Linked DNA regions of Homo sapiens: region 2 is linked to region 1. Evidence: promoter capture Hi-C in 16 types of primary human blood cells and fetal thymus (Javierre and others, 2016). All regions are on one chromosome and are shown on one strand. The core of a region is centred on a gene start or on the middle of the fragment in contact, and the rest is flanking DNA. Distances in the headings are between cores, read along the strand shown.

Evidence for each region. Contacts are between HindIII fragments. The CHiCAGO score rates a contact against its expected background, and 5 or more counts as called.
Region 2: a fragment that was not itself captured here is called in contact with the fragment with the promoter of TPI1 in region 1 in 1 of 17 cell types (fetal thymus); the score reaches 6.6 in fetal thymus.

Annotation. Positions count from the first base shown.
Region 1 is chr12:6,864,780-6,872,076 of GRCh38, reverse strand. It overlaps TPI1 (triosephosphate isomerase 1), which reads right to left and starts at 4,546. Exons shown (of 7, transcript NM_000365.6): 1 at 4,396-4,546; 2 at 3,090-3,213; 3 at 2,894-2,978; 4 at 2,687-2,819; 5 at 2,304-2,389; 6 at 1,941-2,028; 7 at 1,129-1,812. The coding sequence starts at 4,510. The coding sequence ends at 1,694. It overlaps USP5 (ubiquitin specific peptidase 5), which reads right to left. Exons shown (of 20, transcript NM_001098536.2): 18 at 7,202-7,297; 19 at 6,829-6,913; 20 at 5,445-6,093. The coding sequence ends at 6,000. SPSB2 (splA/ryanodine receptor domain and SOCS box containing 2) reads left to right here. Exons shown (of 3, transcript NM_032641.4): 3 at 758-1,142. The coding sequence ends at 885. RefSeq lists silencers at 1-114, 3,940-4,379, 4,650-4,699 and enhancers at 771-1,356, 4,969-5,630, 5,631-6,293. The HindIII fragment of the contact is 21,039 bases long and covers 1-7,297 here.
Region 2 is chr12:7,635,251-7,642,547 of GRCh38, reverse strand. No RefSeq gene overlaps it. Among named protein-coding and RNA genes, the nearest start is that of APOBEC1, 27 kb to the left of the region's middle. RefSeq lists silencers at 2,416-2,515, 3,597-3,726 and an enhancer at 4,168-4,702. The HindIII fragment of the contact is 340 bases long and covers 4,117-4,456 here.

The sequences.
Region 1 (7,297 bases), core at 3,297-5,796:
AATTTAACCCAACAGCAATAGAGGTGAAACAGGCTTGAGAAAGCAACTTTCTCAAGTTCTCTTGGCCAGTAAATGGTGAACCTTCAGAATGGAGGGAGGAACTGCAGGGATGAGAGAATTCAGGAGATATCAACCCCTGAGCAAGAGGTGCAAAGCGTTAGGTACTGGGTTTGATGTACAGGTCCAAAAGAAGGATGGGCAGAGCCAGGTACCCAGGCTGTATACCGGATTCCCTGGGCTCTAACCTGTCTCTGTGCCACATACCTACTTCCTTCCTCAGCCACACCTCTGGATGGAGACACTGGGGCCCTGGGCACCAGGGAGGAGAGCAGTGGAGGAGGCAGGGCCTTAGGGTGGGGCAGCAGGGGAGGAGCCTCCCCAGGAACTGACTGGGTCCAGGGCTTGGAGCTGCTCTCTGCAGTTGTGTGGGCTGTAGAGTGGAGGGCCATCCCTCCTCACCTCAGCCCCAGCTCCCAAGCCTCTGGAGTCAAAGCCTGGGCCAGCTCCACCACTGTCAGAGCCACCTTGGCCTGTTGTTTAGAGGGCCTTAGCCAGCTCTTCACCCCCAGCTCTGACTAGGGATGTGTGAAATCTTATCTGGGAGGCAGAACTTCCGGGTATCTCAAATTCCCCTTTCAGCCAGGTGGGCACACTCGAAGCAGGAAAGCAGAAAGGCATCTGAGTAGGACCCCGTAGTTTGAGGACATCTGGCTGGTGGCTGCACCCATACTTACATTCCCCTCCTTCTCTCTCCCAGCGGAGCCACACTCCCTTCTGCACCTGAGCCGCCTGTGTGTGCGCCACAACCTGGGGGATACCCGGCTCGGCCAGGTGTCTGCCCTGCCCTTGCCCCCTGCCATGAAGCGCTACCTGCTCTACCAGTGAGCCCTGTGATACCACAGACTGTGCTGAGGTCTTGCCACCACCCCTCCCCTTGGGGAGGTGGGGAGGCACTGCTGGCCTAGACCAGCTGCTGAAAGCTGGTGAGGCTGAGCCCCTACCCCAACCCAAGCTCTGCGGAAATCAACAGCCCCAGAGCCACTTGGAGGGAGGAAGAAAGGGAGCCGGCGTTCAAGGCTATGACAGTCTGCTACGCAAAACATTTTTTCAAGTAAAAATAGTAAGAGATGTTGTTATAGAAACCTGTTCTTGTTTTTTTTTTTTTCTTGCACAAATGATCATTTATATAGCTGCCTCAAAAAGGAAGATTATCTGGGCAAGTCCAGTGAAGGCAGACAAACCACAAGACCTAGTGCCAGGTTTATTCCCTCACATGGGTGGTTCACATACACAGCACAGAGGCACGGGCACCATGGGAGAGGGCAGCACTCCTGCCTTCTGAGGGGATCTTGGCCTCACGGTGTAAGAAGGGAGAGGATGGTTTCTCTTCTGCCCTCACTAGGGCCTAGGGAACCCAGGAGCAAATCCCACCACGCCTTCCATCTCTCAGCCAAGGAGAAGCCACCTTGGTGACGTTTAGTTCCAACCATTATAGTAAGTGGAGAAGGGATTGGCCTGGTCCCAACCATTACAGGGTGAAGATATAAACAGTAAAGGAAGATACAGTTTGGATGAGGCCACAGGAAGGAGCAGATGACACCATCAGAAGCATATGCAGGGAAAGGGCAGTTACTGGGCTTCTGGGCTGCTTAGTCCCTGGCTTGGCAGGAAGGGTAGGGAAGATGGATGGGGCTCATTGTTTGGCATTGATGATGTCCACGAATTCGGGCTTGAGGGAAGCACCACCCACAAGGAAGCCATCCACATCAGGCTGGCTGGCCAGCTCCTTGCAGGTTGCCCCAGTCACAGAGCCTGGGAAGGGAGCAGAACAAGGGCTTGGTCAAGAATGGGATGAGTCTGCCCCATCCCCACCTCCATGTCCGAGGGCTCAGTCTAGTCCTCAGCCCACTCCACCTCAGCCGGGAACCAAAGCCACTCACCTCCATAAATGATACGGGTGCTCTGAGCCACCGCATCAGAGACGTTGGACTTCAGCCATCCTCGGAGCTTCTCGTGTACTTCCTGGGCCTAGAACAAGAAGCTGGCCTAAGTAAGACCTTTTCTGCCTCTCTAAGAGGAAAAATCACTGGCACCAGTGGACACTTAGTGTGGTTTCTGACTGAGTCAGAGTACCAGGGCTCTGATCCAAGCCAGGCCCTGGACTGGATGCCCTTGGACAAGTCACTGTCTCTGGGTTCAAGGTCTCTGTGTCTTTGAAATAAGGGGTTGCCCCATGTGGGCTGTGTCTGTCCAAACCTATTGAGGCAGGCTGGGATGAGGGCAGGGCTCCTGGGCCCGGTTACCTGTTGGGGTGTTGCAGTCTTGCCAGTACCAATGGCCCACACAGGCTCATAGGCCAGGACGACCTTGCTCCAGTCCTTCACGTTATCTGCAGGGCAGAGATACAGATGGAGGGAAGGGTGAACAAGAAAGAGCTCTCCAGCCAGGTTCTCCGGAGTACGAAGAACGGTGGCCTACTGCCCCCTAGTGGACATTGGGGGATTTCCAGGTGGCATCTACCTTGGGGCTGGAGAAGTCATAGGCCCCAAGCAAAGATTGTCACTCCCCCTCCCCTTTTTCCTTTTCTGGATCAGCATGGGGACCAAGACAGGCTCCAGGGCCTGACCCTACCCTCTGAGTCTCTGTGGCCCTGGATAGGCTCAAAGGTCCCTTTCTCCAGAGATACCTGCGATGACCTTTGTCTGCTCGAAAACAACCTTCTCAGTGATGCCAGCTTCCCTTTCATCTAGCTTCTCCCCAATGCAGGCGATTACTCCGAGTCCCTCTGCCAGAGCATGGGCCACTTTCTGCCCAATCAGCTGTTGAGAAACAGACTTGGTGAGACATCCTTCTTGGAAAAAGACATCCCTTATCTTCTCTCTTGGCTACTAACCTCATCTGACTCCCCAAAGACATGCCTTCTCTCTGAGTGCCCCAGGACCACCCACGTGGCTCCGCAGTCTTTGATCATGCCAGGGCTAAAGGAAGAGATGAAGCCAAGGTTCAGCAGGGAGCCCACCCTGTGGCTTTCCCCTCAACGAGGAAAGTGAGGGAAGGGTCCCACACACCCCTCTCCACCTCGATCTCACCTGATCTCCCCAGTAAAAGCCCCATTAGTCACTTTGTAGCAGTTCTGCGCAGCCACAGCAATCTTGGGATCTAGCTTCTGCCGGGCGAAGTCGATATAGGCAGTAGGGGGAGCACAAACCACCTCTGAGGACAAGATGGTACCACAGGGGGATGAGACTAAAGAAAGCCTTCATTCCCCACAATTCCTAACCAGTGCCCTGGAGCCCCCCAGCCCTCACCCTCTTCTTCTTGGTTCTGCTCTCCCCCTTTTCACCCCAGCAAGATGACCTTTGTCCATTTTCCAGCCCAGGCTGGGTCTGCACTCAACTCGAAGAGCCTTCCAGATACCCCTGAGAGGCCACGGCCCTCACCCTGCCCTCTGCTCTTTTAACAGCTGGGGCTCCAATTTCCTCGAGCTATTCTCGGCATAGGCACCTCACAGACTCAGCATTCTCCAGGGAGCAACCCTGCTTCCCTTCTAAAATAGCCCATCCTCACCTCCCCTTTGCAAGGCAAGGATTTGTAGCAAAAGGAGAGGGGCCAACTCCTGGGGTTTGTATTGAGGCCTCTGGGGAATGAACGAGAAGGGGATGCCTCTTTGGATCAGGCCCGCGGCTCTCCGATTTCGGTGGAGGGAGGAAGGAGGATGGAGGAGAGCATCCTTTGCCCGTGGGTGGCAGAGACCTAACTGACTCAGAGGCCTTGCGCTTTGCTGTTTCCAGGTTGGGGAAAGCGGTAGGATGGCTCCTCACTCCCAAATCGCTCAGCCTGTTTGGCACGGGCTCGGTCCCTTCCGTGGAAGGCGGGAGTCGTTCAGGTTGCCGAAGGGAAGGGGTCAGATCTGGGGCTCAGGGAGCCCGAGCAGCTCGGCGCGGGGACGCGGACGCCGGCGAGGAAGGGGAGGAGTCTGGGGCTACGTGCGGCGGCGCACGGCGCGGGAGGCCAGGGCGCAGGGAGCGGGAAGCCCACGCGGCCCAGCCTCCCCCGGTCTCCCGCAGAGCCTCGGGCTCCGCTCCTAACCCCGTCGCCTGGCGGGCACAGCCCCAGTGCGCGCCCCGGGGCCACCTTCCTCCAGGAGACCCAAAACGTCCTTACCTGCCCCATAGTCCAAGGGGCATCATGTGCTCCGCCCTGCCCCCTCGACGCACCGACGGGGCTGCGGCTGCGAGGCCCCTGCCCGGACCCCAGCGGCCCTCGTCCCACAGCCCTGCATCAGGTCCGCGCGGATACCGGCCTCGGGGCCTCGGGGCCTCGGGAGAGGGCGCTGCCACTCCTGCCCCGGCCCCGGCCCCGGCCCGGCCAGACCCCTCCTCGGCGAGGGCTTACCGGTGTCGGCCGGCACCTTGGCCGCGTTCAGAGTGCCGATGAGCTCCCCCAGACTCTGCTTCCGCCCGTTCATCTTCCAGTTTCCCCCAACGAAGAACTTCCTGGAGGGCGCCATGGCGCTGGAGCCGAGGCGCTGAAGGTCAGTGTCTGCGCGCAGTCGCGGCCACTGCCCACTTATATAGAGCGCCGCGAAGTGGAACTCCGCCTCCTCGCCGTCCTCCGCCATGGCCCGCCCAGTCCCCCGGAGCCCTGCCCCCCGCCCGCCCTCCTGCCGCCGCCCCGGCCGCCGCCCGATGATGCACTGTTCCGACGTTCCCCCTTCTTGTGGCAACGTTCTAGGAGAGTCGGGGGCTCGGTCGCCTCCGCCTCGATTGCGGGGCTTTCGGGACAAGGCGAGACCTGTGAGCTCCGGCGCTCAGGGGAACCCTCGCTTGGCGACTTGAGTCCCCCACGGGGCCAGAAGTGGTTTTCAAGCGGAACTAGCTGGTGGCAACTTGGCCGTAGCCCAGATCGCCCACTGGGGCAGAGAGGGCCCCTCTCCAACTGTGGGATAGACAACCTCCTTCGCCCATCGGAGCAGCTCATGCCCGACTGCTGAGCAGGCACCCTTGTACCCAGGGAGTCTACCTGAGTGAAAACTTGCGGGACAAATGCAGGGTTCACAGCGGGAGGGGCAGCCCACACAGGCATAGGCCGCCAGGATCATCCCAACCCTCGCCCCGGCTGGCAAGGCCTGGCAGGAACTGCAGGGACTGAGTCCCAGCCTGAAGCCAGCTAGCCAGTTAGGGACATTTGGGAAATCCTCCACTCCTGTGTGAATAAAGAGAGGGAAGGGTTCTTCACTCCATCTTTCCTTGGCTTTGTGTCGGCATTTAGTCACTCTACTCCACCTCCCCACCCAACCCCAATTTTCCTAGAGCTCTAGAACCAGTGAAAAGTGGAGACTTGACTTTGGCAGGGAGGCGGCCAGAGTTAGGAGTTTTCTTAAGCGCCCTCCTGCTAACCCCAGGAAGGTAAGCCTCTCCCCCAAGGTATCAAACAGGACACAATTTAGCCGTTGTACTTTTATTCACATCGTGTATTTTGGCATTTTCCAGAGAAGGACAAGGAAGAGACAGGGTGGGGGAAAGACTGAGGCAGGAGGGCAAGTCGGGGGGTCCCTATTTCCCTCACATCCCTCCTTGACCAACCACACAGGGGCAAACAAAGGGGGAGGGGAGGCACAGGTGATCGCTCCACTGGGAGAGGATGCACAAAGCTACACCCACGCGCACAAACGAGACCCCTCCCTCCACACCAGGGGGCTGGGCGGGGCGACACAGAGAAGCAGAGCACTGTGGATTCCGGGGGCAGGGGAAGCAACAAAGTCTCCTTACAGACAGGTGGCCGGCCCCTCCCGTCCCCGTCCTGCTCCATCCCCAGAGTCTATCGCTGCCCCTCTGCTCTGCCCAGCCATTCTCCCACGGCCTCCAGCTTCTTCCCTGCTGCCGGGGACAAAAGGAAAAAGGGTACAGAGCAGAGGGGCTGAAGTCCATCCCTCAGCCCCTCTCCCTCATGCCAGGTGGTCTTCCCCTGCCCTCATTGGTAAGGGGTGAGGCAGGCTCTTAGCTGGCCACTCTCTGGTAGAAGTAGATGTAGCCCAGGTCCTTGGGCGGCTTCTCGGAGGCACACACTTTCTGGTCATTGTAGATCACCCATCTGGGGAAGTGGGGAAAACAGAAAAGGATGAACAAACTGGGCATTCAAAGTGGCATCATGTAGTCTCTCAGACATGGCCCCTGGAAGTGCTCTCCACACTCTCTGCCCATACCCCAAATCCACAGCCCAGCCACCATGTGCCTTAAGGGAGCTTCACAACCTCACAAGGGTCACGGACCCTATTATGTCTTCAGATCCTCCAGTACCTTTACAACCACCCTCCACCCATTCCAGGGAGGCAGGGGGTTGGTAAACTTTTTCTGGCAAGGGCCAGATAGTATTTGAGGTTCTGCAGGCTCTCTCTCTGGTCTCTGACACAACGACTCAACTTTCCTGCCGCAGCGTGAAAACAGGCACAAACAACACATAAACAAGTGTGTCCAGGTTCCAGTGAAAATTTATTTACAAAGGCAGGGGGCCTGGCCAGGCACGGTAGCTCATGCCTGTAATCCTAGCACTTTGGGAGGCCGAGGCAGAAGGATCACTTGAGCTCAGGAGTTCAAGACCAGCCTGGGCAACATAGTGAGATCCCATCTCTATTTAAAAAAAAAGCTGGTGGCCAGATCCAACCCTTGGGCCAATCACTGCTGCAAGACCTTCTGTCACTCTCTGGCACTTTATGTCCCCATCAGGCAGTCCCTTCACCTTCTCCCATAGCTATCCCAAGGACTTCCAAATGGCCCTCCTCATTCCCACCACCATTCTCCATTCAAAACGCATGTGGCCAGCACTCACCTGCCTTCTTTCTTGATGTGGCAGACGTAGTGACCACACATGGTAGAGGTGCCCATGTGACTAATGAAGGCAAAGAGCTGATACTCTAGGAAAGGAGAGAGGGGGTCAGAGAAGGAAACAGAAGAGGAATGCTTGAGTGATGGCCCAAAGATCCAGACAACAGCTCAGACTCAGGACAGGAGTTTCAGGGAATGTGAGGCAGGTACTGGGCCAGAGCCTGTCTCCATGTCAGAGAACCCCACCCTCAGATGCCACGTTGAGGTGGAAAGAAGCCCCTGACTCCTGAGGAGGGCAGAGCTGCCTGAATGAGGGATCTGGTGTAGTAGACTGACCAGATTCCACCAGGCCTGTCCTGCTTCCTGGGGATACTCACTTCCAGGACCATCCCGGACTTTAGGTCCCACTGGCACAGACTCAGAGATGGAGTCGGCAGCTGAGCGGCCCTCTGAGATGTCCATGGCAGCTTCAG
Region 2 (7,297 bases), core at 3,037-5,536, 770 kb before region 1:
GCCTGCCACACTGATAGCAACTAGCAGATGCACCTCCGGGATCCTGGACTTTGCAAGCCTGCAAAGCTGCTGCTAGAGTCTCTGTCCTTCTGACCATTGTCTCTTTCTTTTGGGCCTCCTCCTGGTTCCTATTACAAAAGACCAAAGTGGCCACTTTCAGGAAGTTCTCTAAGGTGCTATCTGGTCCTATAGCTTGCTTGTGTAGTTTCCTTTTAATATTGGCAGCTGCCTGTCTAATAAACTTGTCCTTTAGGATGAGCTGTCCCTCGACTGAATCAGGGGATAAGGAGGGGTGTTCTGTTAGTGCCTCTCTCAGCCTTTCCATAAAGGCTACAAGATTCTCATCTGGCTGTTTATCATGGACAGTTTAGAGTAATTGAGAGGTTTGGCCCTGGTTTTCCGTAGGCCCTCTAATGCACACTTAAAAAAGAGCTTCCTTTTCATCTCCTGAGTTATTGGGGTCCCAATTAGGGTTGTCAAGGGAAACTGCTTTCCTCCCAATTGGGAATGGCATTTCTGCTATTTCTTCTCTTTCCTTATCTGCTTTCTTCCCTTTTGGTGTATTATAGGAGATATGTTGCTAATCTCTGAAATCAGAGCTGCCTGCTTTTCAGCTGCAGTGAGGGTCTGACTTAGGAGCAACATAACATCCTTCCATCTGAGGTGAAATACCTGAGTTAAATTTTGGAAAGCTTTTTTTTTGAGACGGAGTCTCACTCTATTGCTAGGCTGGAGTTCAGTGCCGTGATCTTGGCTCACTGCAACCTCCACATCCTGGGTGCAAGCGATTCTCCTGCCTCAGCCTCCCAAGTAGCTGAGATTACAGGCACATGCCACAACGCCCAACTAATTTTTGTATTTTTAGTAGAGACGGGGTTTCACCATGTTGACCAGGATGGTCTCAATCTCTTGACCTCGTGATCTGCCCGCCTCAGCCTCCCAAAGTGTTGGGATTACAGGCGTGAGCCACTGCGCCCAGCCTGGAAAGCTTTTATATACCTATCAGGGTTGTGAGAAAATTGGCTAAGTCTCCCTTTATTACAGGCCTAAGGGGCTGTAACGAGAAGGGAACTTGAAGGGGCCCCCAAAGAAGGGGGATCTTCAGATGGCTCCTCTGGAAGTTGCTTTTCTAATTTTGGGGAATTATTTTCAGTGAGCGTGCCTGATATGATTCCTAAAAGAGCTGGGTTGATCTTACACTGCTTGCAAAGTTTCAGTAAAAATACCATGCCCTTGTGCAAAATAAAATGAGTTGCTCTTCTCTTTAATGTCCTGAGGCTAAGAAAGTTTCAGTGTTTCAGAGTGCACGCCAGAGGGGCACAAACTGAAGATAATCTGTTACCCATCTAGAAAGAAAAGCAATAAAAGTGTCCTTTTAATCTACTTTGATTCCCTATGACCCCCGACGGAGAATAACACAGTGGAGTGTCCTGTTTTCCTTCCCTGGTTCCTGGGACCCTGTTAAATGTGCCACCCACGATTGTAAGCATGGTCCCCCAAGCCATGGGAGCGGATGAACTAAGTGATGGTGTGTCCGGAATGGGTGGGTTCTTGGTCTCACTGACTTCAAAAATGAAGCCGCAGACCCTCACGGTGAGTGTTACAGCTCTTAAGGTGGCGCGTCTGGAGTTTGTTCCTTTTGATGTGCAGGTGTGTTCAGTTTTTTCTTTCTGGTGGGTTCATGGTCTGGCGGGCTCAGGAGTAAAGCTGCAGACCTTTGCGGTCACTGTTACAGCTCTTAAGGCAGCGCGTCGGGAGTTGTTCGTTCCTCCCGGTAGGCTCGTGGTCTCGCAAGCTTTCGTGGTGAGTGCTGTAATTCACAAAAGTAGTATGGACCCCAAGAGCGAAAGAACAAAGCCCCACCAAGGCAGAGAGACACCCGAGCGGGTTACTACTACCAACTCGGGCAGCCTGCTTTTATTCTCTTATCTGGCCCCCCCCCAACCACATCCTGCTGATTGGTAGAGGCGAGTGGTCTGTTTTGACAGGGCGCTGATTGGTGCGTTTACAATCCCTGAGCTAGGTACAAAGGTTCTCCTCCTCCCCATCAGATTAGTTAGATACAGAGTATCCACACAAAGGTTCTCCAAGGCCCCACCAGAGCAGCTAGATACAGAGTGTCGATTGGCGCGCTCACAACCCTGAGCTAGACACAGGGTGCTGATTGGTGTGTTTACAAACCTTGAGCTAGATACAGAGTGTCCATTGGTGTATTTGCAATCCCTGAGCTAAACATAAATTCTCCACGTCCTCACCAGACTCAGGAGCCCAGCTGGCTTCACCCAGTGGATCCCGCACCGGCGCTGCAGTCCCACGCCATGCGCTTGCACTCCTCAGCCCTTGGGCGGTCGATGGGACTGGGCGCCGTGGAGCAGGGGGCGGCGCTCGTCGGGGAGGCTCCGGCTGCACAGGAACCCACGGAGGCGGGGGAAGGCTCAGGCATGGCGGGCTGCAGTCCCAAGGCCTGCCCCGCGGGAAGGCAGCTAAGGCCCGGTGAGAAATCGAGCGCAGCGCCGGTGGGCTGGCACTGCTGGGGGACCCAGTACACCCTCCGCAGCCGCTGGCCCGGGTGCTAAGCCCCTCACTGCCCCGGGCCGGCAGGGCCGGCCGGCTGCTCCGAGTGCGGGGCCGCCAAGCCCACGCCCCCCCGGAACTCCAGCTGGCCCGCAAGCGCCGCGCGCAGCCCCGGTTCCCGCTCGCGCGTCTCCCTCCACACCTCCCTGCAAGCTGAGGGAGCGGGCTGCGGCCTTCGCCAGCCCAGAAAGGGGCTCCCACAGTGCAGCGGTGGGCTGAAGGGCTCCTCAAGTGCCGCCAAAGTGGGAGCCCAGGCAGAGGAGGCGCCGAGAGCGAGCGAGAGCTGTGAGGACTGCTAGCACGCTGTCACCTCTCAATGGGATTAACCACACTTTACCCACGCAACCTTAGCTTATCTGCCTTGTGTGATTCCCTTTGACTTCCTAAGCCTATGTGATCTACCTGGCTCCCTGAAAAATTGATCTTTGGAGAGACTGTGTTGTTTTTGGTCAAGGCTCCTTTAACAGAGGCAATGTGCTAGACTGCCTGCTATTATGGCCCATGCCAAACCATTTACCCTCAGAAAAATGGTTCTGGTTAACTTCTGAACTTAAAATCTCCCTACTAATTATACCATTTTAACAGGAAACAGATTAGATGTCTTAAAAGAGCGTAGGAACAGAATGGCCATTTTCCTGCTTATGGGACAATATCAAGACTAAAATGTGGCAGCAGACATATTACTTCTTTTTGAGACAGAGTCTCACTGTCACCCAGGCTGGAGTGCAGTGACGTAATCTCAGCTCACTGCAACCTCTGCTTCCCCGTTTTAAGCAATTCAATAGCCTCAGCCTCCTGAGCAGCTGGGACCGCAGGTGTGCACCACCACGCCCAGCTAATTTTTGTGTTTTTAGTAGAGACGGGGTTTCACCATATTGGCCAGGCTGGTCTCGAACTCCTGACCTCGTGATCCACCCGCTTTGGCCTCCCAAAGTGTTGGGATTACAGGCGTAAGCCACCATGCCCGGTCGAGGACATATTACTTCTAATTGCTGAAGGCAGAACTTTCCGGTTCACAGAAGTAGGTTAGAGCCTGATTTCTGGTGGTGCAAAAGGAAGTTCAGTGTTACCGTAAAAAATGTGGCCCCTGAAGAGGATTTCTACTTCCACTAGGTGGCGCTGTTGGCTTAGAAATACTATATGCTCACCAGCGCAGCCACAGAGAGCGGGCTTGTTGAGTTACTGCCTGCTGCGTTTGCCATCTTTCCTAGCAGACCTGTTTCACTGAACTGTAAAACTCCCTGCACTTTTCACAGAGAGAGAGTAAGAGACCGTGGATAGAGAAAGAAGGAAAATTTTGCAACAGGATAGTAAGAAGAGAGCCTTGAAATTGAAGGAGAGATTTGAGGTTGGGGCTCGCTCTATAGTCACCACTCCGATGAATGAATTCCCGGTCAATGCAACCAAAATGATAACTGCTCTGATGAATGGAAGAACAGCAGGGTCCTTGGTCTAACATCGTTTTAGATAAAGCGACATGGACACATGTAGAGTGGTTTTAAGGAGTGGAGAGTTTAATAAGCAAGAAAGAAGGAAGAAGCTTCCCAGTACAGGGACAGAGGGAGGGGGGCTCCCAGAGAGAAACCCCGTGTGTGGCAGAGTAGTTTGTTATAGCAGGAGGCTGGAGGAGGAGGTGTCTAATTTGCATAGGGCCCAGGAGATTGGTTTGACCAGGCGTGTCATTCACATAGCCCGTGAAAAACCTGGCACTCCTACCTTACTCCTTTAATATGCAAATGCAGGTCACCATGATATCCATGTTATCTGGAGGCAATCATGACACTTGGCACATGTAGTGATGAGGAGGAGAGGGTGGCACTCTTCCTGTTGGCCATGTTGGGTGGACCCAGTTTCTAATCGCCAGCATTTGCATATCAAAGCTTGCCGGCCTGGTTTTTCAAGCTGCCTTTCTGTTAGAAAAGAAATGGTTTGGGGGTTGCTTCTTATTACAGGAAAATTTCCACTGAGAACCTTTACCCTTTCTAGCGGCCTAAAAGTTATTTCTTAATAATTCCTGTATTATTTGGAGGTGTTTGGGTCATGTGGGTAGATCCCTCCTGAAGTAATGAGTTCTCACTGTTCGTTCACACAAGAGCTTGTTGTTTAAGAGTCTGGCATCTCGCTTGCTCCTACTCTCACCATGTGGCACACTGTCGCCCCTTTGCCTTCCACCATGATTGTAAGCTTCCTGAAGCCCTCATCAGAAGCAGATGCTGGCACTATGCTTCATGCACAGCCTGTAGAACTATGAGTCAACTTAACCCCTTTTCTTTATAGATTACCCAGCCTCAGGTATTCTTTTATAGTAATGCAAGCAGACTAACACAAAGCTCATTATATATTTACAGTAGAGATGGATGTTAATACATGAGCATATTTTATATGAGCCACTATAATTATTGCTATTCCTATAGGAGAAAAATTATTCAGCTGATTAGCAAACTTTCACAGAGAAAATATCTAATGGTCATTAGCTGTACTATGAACTTTAGGCTTTATTTTCTCATTCACAGTTGGAGGCTCAACAAAAATTGTATCAGCTAAATTATCATTTGATATCAACCTTCATGATAGATATTGTTGTAGTAAAGCAAAGTAAAATGAAAGTAAAGTCAAAGTAAAGCAAAGTAAAAGGCTAGAGAGTGTTGGAAGCAGTGAATCCTATTTTAGATGGACTTGCCAAGGATACTGGTAATTTTCTTTTTTTTTTGAGATGGAGTCTTTCTTTGTCATCCGGAGTGGAGTGCAGTGACTTGATCTTGGCTCACTGCAACCTCTGCCTCTGGGGTTCAAGCGATTCTCCTGCCTCAGCCTACTGAGTAGCTGGGATTATAGGCACGTGCCATCATGCCTGGCTAATTTTTGTATTTTTAGTAGAGACGGGGTTTCACCATATTGGCCAGGCTGGTCCCGCACGCCTGACCTTGTGATCTGCCCACCTCGGCCTCCCGAAGTGCTAGGATTACAGGCATGAGCCACTGCACCTGGGCGGATACTGGTAATAAAGTAAATGAGCAGGTCATGTGAAAATCTGGAGAAAGTTTATTTCAAGCAGATGGAAGAAGGTGCAGGCATTTGAAATTGGAACAAAACAAATTTGGCATTTTTTAAGGAATAAAAAATGTGGTTAGAGTGGAATAAATGAGGTGAGAAAATGTAGGAAATAGGGCCAGGGAGACAAGCAAAGGTAAGATTATGTAGGGAAGTATAGGTCATGGAAAGAAATTTGGATTTTCTTTTGAGTAAACTGGATTTTAGAAATTTGTGGTAGTGCAGGATTTATTATGTATTAACAAGAACTGGTTGCCTGCTGTATGGAAAACAGATATAGTGGGGCAAAAGTGAAGTAAGGAAGTCCAGTTAGAAATACAGCAGATATCTAGTAAAGACTAAGCTCTGATTTTTTATCTGGCCTAAATTCCTTATTAAGGGGTATGGGGAGTCATGACCCACAAACCATAAATTCTCATCAGATGGGTTTTATTTAATCCTGTATATTACGACTTACTTTCCAATCTGACTCTGGCATAACTAGAAAGAAAATAAAAATGTTTTACCCCAAAATATATTTTCTTGCCATACCTTGAAATTGCCCTGCAAAGTCCCTTGTGGGAAAAATCCACATTCTATAGAGAATCCCCTTTCCCCTTTGTTTTCCTTTCTTCCTTTCTGGATCCAGGAGATAATCAACTAAGAGCCAGGTACCCTTTTAGGTCTGATAGGAAACATTTTACAACCTGCTGTCTCTGAAGTCTGCTATCAGAGAGCTTCCTCTGCACAATAAAACTTGGTCTCCACAATTCTTTATCTTAACTTGAACATACCTTTCTTTTTTTTGAGACAGAGTCTCACTCTGTCACCCAGGCAGGAGTGCAATGACGCAATCTCGGCTCACTGCAACTTTCGCCTCCTGGGTTCAAAAGATTCTTGTGCCTCAGCCTCCCAAGTAGCTGGGGTTACAGGCACCCACCACCATGCCCAGCTAATTTTTGTATTTTTAGTAGAGACAGGGTTTCACCATGTTGGCCAGGCTGGTCTCGAACTCCTGACCTTGGGTGATCCACCTGCCTTGGCCTCCCAAAGTGCTGGGATTACAGGTGTGAGCCACCACACCCGGCCTGGACATTTCCTTTCTATTGATCCCAGCTCTTCAGATAAACTCAACCAACTGTCATACAGAAAATGTTTAAATTTACCTATAGCCTGGAAGCCCCTGCTTTGAGTTGTCCTGCCTTTCTGAACCAAACCAATGTATTTCTTAAATGTATTTGATGTGTCATGCCTTCCTAAAACATATAAAAGCAAGCTGTACCCCATCCATCCTGGGCACATGTTCTCAGGACCTCCTGAGGGCTGTGTCATGGGCCATGGTCACTCATATTTGGCTCAGAATAAATCTCTTCACATATTTTATAGAGTTTGACTATTTTCATCCATACTAGGAAATATGACTATTATCTCTACTGAAATAAAGATACAAGTGGTGAGAAGTAGTAAGATTTGGGATATATATTAAAGGTTTAGTTGACAGGATTTGTTGATGGAATAAATGTATGCTACAAAGGGAAAACTCATGACTTTTACATTTTTAGCAAGAACAACCAGATGAATGATACTGTCACTTAACTGAAATGAGGAACACAGGGCTAGGAGTGGTTTGAAAGTGAAGTCAAGAGTTCCATTTAATTATGTTAACTTTTAAAATGTTTATTAGACATACAAG